Linked DNA regions of Homo sapiens: region 2 is linked to region 1. Evidence: promoter capture Hi-C in human tissues and cell types (Jung and others, 2019). All regions are on one chromosome and are shown on one strand. Each heading gives the region's core, a stretch centred on a gene start or on the middle of the fragment in contact. The rest is flanking DNA. Distances are from core to core; before and after follow the strand shown. Region 1 holds the start of DCUN1D2 (defective in cullin neddylation 1 domain containing 2). Region 2 overlaps TUBGCP3 (tubulin gamma complex component 3).

Region 1 (4,517 bases), core at 1,350-3,849:
AGGAGCACATGGATCCAGGCCACTCAAAATGGCTTTGAATCACTACTGTTAGCTAGAGTGGACAGAAGTCGGTATCCAGAAACACGAAGAGCCCCCTGCAATCTACTCAAATTGTCTGATGTCACAAGATACTCCAGTAAACCCTGAACCACACGGTGGTGCCAAGGCACTGGTTCTGAAGGAGCAAGAGAAGCTTTGGGGTCTAGGCTTAGTCCATTAACAGGCCTCTGGTCAGTCAACAAAGCTGCAATCATTTGATGTCACCCCTTACAGGTTTCTCCATAAAATAACAGTGATTAAAGCAATGATCGATAGCTAAGTCTAAAGACTAGGTGCTTCATGTCCAAAAGTGACTGAGAGACCCAAGTTACCTCTTGTGAAAAAGGGAACTGGCATAAAGCTTCTTAGGAAACAAAAAGGCTCGTCAACTAAAAAACTACAGGGGAGAGAAGGAAGCCGAGTCCCTCTAGACAGGACTAAACCCAGATCAAATTTACAAAGGCCCAGACATTGGCAGTAAGCTTTGAGTGCACCAAGAGAGGACTGAACCCAGGTCAAATTAACAAAGGCCCAGACGTTGGCAAGAAGCTTCGAGTGCACCCAGACAGGACTGAACCCAGGTCAATCTAATCAAGGTGGATACACTGGAACTAGGGCCGCCCTTCAAGCTCACAACCTTCACTGAGGCTTACCACATCATGCAAATTAAATTATTAAGGCCAGCTTTTAAAGTGTGTACATGGGGTGGGGGGAAGGCATTTTCTAGGTTTCATTATTTCTGTTAAAATGTACACAATTCTTGAAATAAAAATCTGGACAATCCAGTGGAAACAGCAAATAAAATCTCTAAACTATAAAAAAGTCTCAAACACTTTAATTGTGACCTTGTGAAATACGACTCATATAATCTGGCACCAAGGATACCCATATGTAAAATGGAAAGAAATTACTCTTAAAATGTCCTTAGGGTCAACTTACCCGGGGCTGGCGGGCCAATCATGTTGATCGAATAAACTACGTAAGTTTATGGATCACTTTCACTCTGTTTCGGTATACAGCACGCTAGAGGGAGGGGGAGTTAAATTCATCCCTGCTCTTGGATCTCCAACCTCGGCAGCAGTGGAACGCTCCTCTCCAGCATCCTGAACATGTTCAAGTTTTCCCCAAACTAAGTTCCTGTCCACTCTGCCCCTGTCCTCCTAAAAGCTGGAGCAAGCTATCTCTACCTGCCCAGGTGTGCATCCTAACTCAGGCTACCTGGCTCCAGCCCGGCCTCCGCAGTGACCCCTAAAGGTCACAAAAGCTCGGCTGCTGCGGTCAGTGGGATCTTTTCAGCTGCTCTTTTGTTCAGCACTGCTGATGGCTCCCTCCTCCTTTAAACTCCATCCTCTTGGTTTCGACACATTCTAGTGTCCTGGTTTCTCCTACCAGCCCCCTCTCAGTCTCCTTTGTGGCTCTTCTCCCATCCTGAAGCTTGTCCTCACCCTCCACTCCCCTCTACACGTTACCGTGTCCCTTCTCCGGTGGCTCTCTGTGCCTTAGCCAGGACAATCTTTCAGCTCCTATACGTCATCATCGCCTACCACTAAGGGTCTGTGCATTCTGTTTCTTCTGCCTGGAGCCGCACACGGCTGGCTGCCCCGGAACCTCACTTTTTCTCTGGCTAATTTCCAGAGAAATTCTCCACAGTTCAACTCACACCCTCAGCATCTGACACCACTCCCACAGCCGCATCCTACAAGTTCCTGGAACCCGTGCCTTAGCCTTTGTCCCAACTGTGGTCAAACAATTGTGCATCTGGTGCCTGTCTCCCCTGCTGGGGCATCAACTCCCTCAACGCCAAGATCATGCCTGGCCCAGCACCAGTCACACCCAGCAGCACCTTGCTGGCCTCTGAACCGATGTGGACTGAATAAATCCCATCCATCACCATTTCCACCACATTTCAAAGTAACTGATGTGCACCTCCAGCAGCCTCCCTCCTGCGCTGCGGAACTCTACCAGCTCCACAGATGCACACCTACAGCCACGCTACAGCTCCCGGCTAGAGCCCGCGCTAGGGCCCCGCTGTGCCTCTCCCTCCCCTCCCGGCAGCAGGGCCTCCCCCGCGAATCTGAGCTTCTCGCGGATTCCTTCCTTGCGCTGTTTTGGTCAACAGCCTCAGCATCTGCACAGACGCCCGCAGGAGCAGCCGAGCCCTCGCCCGCCTCGACTGCCCGTTTCGAAGCCGCCCTGGGAAGCCCCCGGCCTGGGTTCCCGCTCGGCCCCGGCCCCTGCCCCAAGGCCCCTACAGTTCCTCCCGGCCCCCGCCCTCCGCTCACTCCCGGTCGTCCCTCGCGGCTCCGGGTCAAACCCGCGCTCCCCGCGGTCCCGCGCCTCCGACGCCACCGCTCCGGCTCGCGGGCCCGCGGCGCGTTCCTCCCTCGGATCCACGCGGAACGCCCCGCGCAGCTCGCTGGGCTCGGCCTCCCACATCCAGCGCGCCGCCTGCGCCGACCTTGGGGCCCGACCCCGACCCCGACCCCGACGGGCAGAGGCGACGCCGGGCCACCTACCATCTCCCCCGCGCCGCCCGCTTCTGGCCGGCCCCGGCCTTCTGCGCAGGCGCGGCGGCGGCTCCGCCCTCGTCCTCGGACGGCCGCGGCCCTCGGCTCCGGGGCAGTGCCGGGAGCCGGCCGCGGGGACTCCCACTCCCGGCATGCTCAGCGCCGCCCGGGGGCCCACGGGAGCTCGCGCCCCACAGCCCCTGCGCGTCCAGCCCTCTGCGAGGGCCTTGGCTCGCCCCTGCGGGGTCCAACGCCAGCCTGCGGCTGCCAGGCCCCACGCCGGCCAGGAAGTGCTCGCCGCCCGCGGCCGACGGGACCCGCCCACGCCCCGCCTCTTAAAGGGGGCAGTGACTGCGGCTGGGCGGGAGTCCGGGTCGGCTTGGCTGAGCGGGGGCGGTGCTGGGCAGGGCGGCGGCCGCTCCCTCCCGGACTCCCGGCCTCCCGGCCTCCCTGGTCCCGCCTGGGAAGGGATGCAAGGAAGCCCTCCGGCGCTGCGCTCCGAGGCGGGAGACAGCGTCCCCCTCCGCCCCTCGGGTCCTGGCGCCTCAGAGCCCGGCCCAGGCCGCGGAACGGTGATGCTCGGGCCGGACGGGCGGGCGCGGATCCCTGCGTCCCGGTGAGCACCAGGCCCGTCCATCCGGGGCTCTTTCCCGGGGTCCCCTTCCTTCCCTCCCTCCCTGGGGCTCCCCTCCCCTCTCTCCCTCCCCGGGGCTCACCTTCCCTTCTTCCCTTCCCAAGGGTCCCCTTCCTTCCTTCCCTCCCTCCCTGGGGCTCCCCTCTCTCCCTCCCCGGGGCTCCCATTCCCTTCTTCCCTTCCCAGGGGTCCCCTTCCTTCCTTCCCTCCCTCCCTGGGGCTCCCCTCCTCTCTCTCCCTCCCTGGGGCTCACCTCCCCTCTCTCTCTCCTCGGGGCTCCCCTTTTCTTGCAGGTATTGTCTCCCGGGGTCGGGTGGTCTGTGTGGCCTGGGGTCCCGCTCCTCCAGGCCTTGCCTAGGCGCTCTTCGCTGAGGCCCACGTTCTAACCTGGAATGGAACCTGCGTTCCCACCCTGGCCGCCCGGGTGGACTCGGGGCCTCCAGGGCCGGCCGCAGAGATGCAGCCCTGTCCCTGGCCCCCCTCCTGTGACTCCTAACGGCTCCTCACGGTGTCCATGACCCAGGGTGTGGACGCCTGCGCGGGGGAAGCAAGACCGCTGCGTATCGGGTCCCTATTCACTGCCTGTTTTTCTGATTATTCTGTCTTCCAAATTTATCTTATTTACCGGCTTTTTCAAAAGGAGTGTCTTAATGATTGGATTACTTGTGAAATATTTGTAGTTTTTTTCTCCTACAGGCTTGACTTAAATATTCTAAAGCTTTTTTGTGGTTGTTGAGACAGAGTTTTGCTGTCGCCCAGGCTGGAGTGCAGTGGCTGGTCAAGGCTCAAGCGATTCTCCCGCCTCAGCCTCCCCAGGAGCTGGGGCCACAGGGAGCATCACGCCCGGCTAATTATTTCATTTTTAATAGAGACAGGGTCTTGCTGTGTTGCCCAGGATGATCTCCAACTCCTGACCTCAAGCAGTTCGCCCACCTCAGCCTCCCAGAGCGCTGGGAATACAGATAATTGTGTCGTAATACAGCAGTGGCATTAACCACCGCACCTGGTCTTAGGTAGAATTTGAAAACCTTTTTATTTTGAGATGGTTGTAGATCACATGAAGTTGTAAGGAGTAATACAGAGAAATCCTACAGAGTGCCTTTGCCCTGTTTTCTCCAATGGTAGCACCTTGCAAAACCATAGTATATGTGGGGAATTTTCTTTGATCAAATCCCCTGACCTGTTGAGATTGCACCAACTATACATGCACTAGTGAGTGTGAATCTACACCTGTGTGTCTTCTCAATAAAATTGAGATTTTTTTTCACTCAGCCTTGAGATACATCCGCATTGTTATGTGTATCAATTGCTCAAGATGCAGAAATTCTAAGAATTCA
Region 2 (4,517 bases), core at 1,307-3,806, 920 kb before region 1:
ACTACTGACTGACCAGGGCGGTGGTTGCTGAAGGCTGTGGCAATTTCTTAAAATAAGACAACAATGAAGTTTACCACATCGATTGACCCTTCCTTTCATGCTTCTTCTCTATAGCATGTGATGTTGTTTGATAGCATTTTACCCACAGTAGAACTTCTTTCGAAACAGAAGCCAGTCCTCTTAAACCCTGCCACTGTTTTATCAACTAAGTTTATGTAATATTCTAAATTCTTTGTTGTCATTTCAACAATGTTCACAGCACTTCAGCAGGAGTAGATTCCACCTCAAGAAACCACTTTCTCTGCTCATCGATAAAAAGCAACTCCTCATCCCTTCACATTTTATCATGAGATTGTGGCAGTTCAGTTACCTCTTCAAGATCCTCTTCTACTTCTCCTGCTATTGCCACCACATCTGCAGTTCCTTCCTCCACTGAAGGCTTGAACCCTCAAAGTCATCCATCATGGCTGGAATCACTTTCTTCCAAACTCCTGTTAATGTTGACAATTTGACCTCCCATGAATCACAAATGATCTTAATGGCATCTAGAATGATGAATCCTTTCCAGAAGGTTTTCAATTTACTTTGCCCAGATCCATCAGAGGAATCACTATCTATGGCAACTATAGCCTTATAAAATGTGTTTCTCAAGTGATAAGATTTGAAAGTTGAAATTACTCTTTGGTCCATGTTCTGCAGAACAGATGCATGTTAGCAGGCATGAAAACAACTCCAGGTGCATTCTCAACGAGCAGTAAGGAATCTTTTTCTGAGCAGCAGACCTTAATAGGAGGCTTAAAATATTCAGTAAACCATGCTATAAAAAGATGTGCTGTCATCTAGGCTTTGTCGTTTCATTTCTAGAGCACAGGAAGAGTAGATTTAGCATAACTCCTAAGGGCCCCAGGATTTTTGGAATGGTCAACGAGCACTGGCTTCAACAACTTCAGTCACCTGCTGCATTAGCCCCAGACAAGAGTCGGCTTATTCTTTGTAGCTCTGAAGGAAGGCACTAACTTCTCCTCTCTAGGAATGAAAGTTGGCATCTTATTAGACGCCAATAAGATGGCATCTTATTCCAATAGAAGGGTGTTTCACTTACACTGAAAATCTGTTGTTAGTGTAGCCACCTTCCCCAATGATCTCAGCTAGTTCTGGATGACTTGCTGCAGCTTCTCCATTAGCAGGTGCTGCTTCACCTTGCATTTTTATGTTATGGAGACAGCTTCTTTCCTTCAGTCTCATGAACTAAAAACCCCTGCTAGCTTCTAACTTTTCTTCTGCAGCTTCCTCACCTCTCTCAGCCTTCACAGAATTAAGGTCTTGCTCAAGATTAGGTTTTGGCTTAAAGGAATGCTGTGGCTGGTTTGATCTTCTATCCAGACCACTCAAACTTTCTCCATATTAGCAATAAGGCTGTTTCAATTTATTACTCTTGTGTTCACTGGAATAGCATTTGTAATTTCCTTCAAGAACTTTTCCTATTCAATCACAACTTGACTAACTGGCATAAGAGGCCTAGCTTCTCGCGTATCTCAGCTTTTGGCATGCCTTCCTCACCAAGCTTAACCATTTCTAGCTTTTGATTTAAAGTGAGAGGCATGTGACTCTTCATTTCACTTGAACACTAATTTCTTTTATTATTATTTCTTCTAAAAAACAAAAAGCGGGATACATGTGCAGAACGTGCAGGTTTGTTACACAGGTACACGTGTGGCAGGTTTGTTACATAGGTATACGTGTGCTGTGCTGGTTTGCGGCACCTAATGACCCGTCCTCTAAGTTCCCGCCCCTCACCCCCCACCCTCCAACAGGCTCTGGTGTGTGTTGTTCCCCTCTCTGTGTCCATGTGTTCTCACTGTTCAACTCCCACTTATGAGTGAGAAGGTCATGTTTGGTTTTCTGTTGATCACTAATTTCACTTAAACAGTAAGAGGTCACTGTAAGGCTATTAACTGGCCTAATTTCAATATTGTTGTGACTCAGGAAATAGGGAGGCCTGAGGAGAGAGGGTGAGACAGGGAACAGCTGGTCGGCAGAGTAGTCAGAACATACACAACACTTTTTGATTAAGTTTGCGCACTTCATGGCACCCCAAAACAATTACAACAGCAGCATCAAAGATCACAAGTTACACATCAACGTAACAGATGTAATAATCATGAAAAAGTCTGAAATACTGTGAGAATTTCCAAATATGACACAGAGATACAAAGTGAGCACATGCTGTTGGAAAAATGGTACCTAAAGACTTGCCCAACGCAGGGTGCCAAAAACTTCCAATTGTCAAATAACGCAGTATCTGTAAAGGACAATAAGATGACGTGTGCCTGTCCTCCACAAGGAAGCTCAGCACTGGGCAAATGCTGCCCTAGCCAAGACCTTCCGACAACTCCACTCTTAAAGATGAAAAGAACAGGTATCGCCAGATACCTGAGGGCATCATCTAAAACAAAAAGGAGACAAACACAAGAAGGAAAAAAGGAAACTCTAAGAAAAAGTAACAACGTAGGGAATAAGAAAATGGGGGCAAGATGTACAAAAACAAGCTATAATGGCCTACGAGATTAGACATAACACATCCATGAAACAAAACAGTATGCCATAAATTCAGAGAAGACAAGCTCTTGAATATTAAAAGTATGAAGGCAGATGTTTTTTAAAATAAGTAGAAAGCTTGTATTTAAAGTTGAAGAAGTCTCTCAAAAACTAAAACAAAAAGGCAAAAAGATGGAAATTACGACAGCCAAGACAAGGAAATCACCAGATCAGCCCAGGCAGAAGTGGGGAGGGAGAAACCTGGAGTGGAATAAATGTCCAAAGAAGTCATACAAGACAGAAAGGATGAGAAGGGAAGGGCCTTGGAAGTTACATGGTTCACAGCAACTGCCTTAGCCCCAGGAAAAAATCCAGGCTCTCATCTCTGCAGAGGCAAACTCCCAATCTGAGGAACTCCCACCCTCAGTACAAGGGATCTGGGAGAAGAATGTTCCCCACTACAATCTCAGCAGCAAAAGAACGTCAAGGGTCAGGAAGAAATCTTTCAGAAAGCCTCCACCTTCCGAAAGCAATCACTTCAATAAGTGGATTGGAGCTGGTGCCAGGGTGGGATAGCCTGCCTGTCTGCCCAACTTCTATGACTCTAGAAGTCAAGTTACCAGTAGATACCTCCAGATCCCCCCACCCCCACCACTGAGTGCTGGGCCCAGTTCAACCCGGGATGCAGAGGAGCAGCCCAACAGGGCAGTGCCCAGCTGCATCTGCCAGCAAAAGCCAACACTGTTCTCCATCCTAGGAAGGAAGTGGAACTATGAGTGGCACCTGGAAATTCAAGTGGGCACTCTGAGCTCAGTATGGCTTCCTCTGCCCAATCCGCAGAGAATCTTTAAGTGAGCACTCTGAGCTCACAGTGTGGCTTCCCCTGCCCAATCCACAGAGAATCTTCAAGTGGGCACTCTGAGCTCAGTGTGGCTTCCCCTGCCCAATCCACAGAGAATCTTCAAGTGGGCACTCTGAGCTCACAGTGTGGCTTCCCCCTGCCCAATCCACAGAGAATCTTCAAGTGGGCACTCTGAGCTCACAGTGTGGCTTCCCCCTGCCCAATCCACAAAGAATCTTCAAGTGGGCACTCCACGCTCACAGTGTGGCTTCCCCTGCCCAATCCACAGAGAATCTTCAAGTGAGCACTCTGAGCTCAGTGTGGCTTCCCCCTGCCCAATCCACAGAGAATCTTCAAGTGGGCACTCTGAGCTCAGTGTGGCTTCCCCTGCCCAATCCACAGAGAATCTTCAAGTGGGCACTCTGAGCTCACAGTGTGACTTCCCCTGCCCAATCCATAGACAATCCAAAATCCCCAGAAATGTAACAAAGGATTTAAGGAAGATATAAACAAAACCAGAAAAGTGGATCTAAGAAGAGCACTCTTGGTGAAACAGAAACTGAAGAATCCCTGAAAGATGTAAAGAAAACAAACAGGATTGACTTGAAAGAAGAAACTAGAGACAGAAGTCATCTCCGTCAAGACAGAGTAAGCACACTCCACTACTGATGACAATGTAAAACTCTGGCAAAAATACATAAAACACCTCCAATCAGACTCTGAACAATGGGTAAGAGAAGCAGACTGGGTATGAAACTGATGAATCAAAGGAAATCCTGGAATGACTTCCCCCATTTTTGCTTTTTGATATTTTCTTTATCTGTTTGCTGTTTACTGCACCAGCTGGGGCTGGGTAACACTCCAAAACCCAAACCACAAACAGGCAAAGACAGAAAAACCTCCGAGCCAGGCCCAGTCTCCCCAGCCAGGGCCCAGGTGGGGAGGGAGGGAGGAAGCACCACAGCTCTCCCAGCCCTGCGCCAGGCTACCAGCCCCTTCTACCTTCAGGGGCACCCCCGCAGTGGGCTGCCCCATTCCACACTTGACAAGAACCAATAATGGCCCCAAAACTCCATCACAAGGCTGGCAGGCTGGGGGTTCGGATTTTAGCCAGAACATGAGGAAATGTGTTGGGAAC

The links. The method cuts DNA at HindIII sites, captures the fragments that hold promoters and counts their contacts. A contact is called where the count stands out against the background at its distance.
Region 2: a fragment that was not itself captured here is called in contact with the fragment with the promoter of DCUN1D2 in region 1 in 1 of the 25 tissues and cell types used here (dorsolateral prefrontal cortex).

The regions. Positions count from the first base shown.
Region 1 is chr13:113,488,112-113,492,628 of GRCh38, forward strand. It overlaps DCUN1D2 (defective in cullin neddylation 1 domain containing 2), which reads right to left and starts at 2,600. Exons shown (of 7, transcript NM_001014283.2): 1 at 2,556-2,600. The coding sequence starts at 2,558. It overlaps SLC9D1 (solute carrier family 9 member D1), which reads left to right and starts at 2,910. Exons shown (of 13, transcript NM_017905.6): 1 at 2,910-3,162. RefSeq lists an enhancer at 1,771-2,070 and a silencer at 2,301-3,220. The HindIII fragment of the contact is 3,591 bases long and covers 1,031-4,517 here.
Region 2 is chr13:112,570,624-112,575,140 of GRCh38, forward strand. All of the region lies in intron 1 of TUBGCP3 (tubulin gamma complex component 3), which reads right to left. Among named protein-coding and RNA genes, the nearest start is that of TUBGCP3, 15 kb to the right of the region's middle. The HindIII fragment of the contact is 4,851 bases long and covers 132-4,517 here.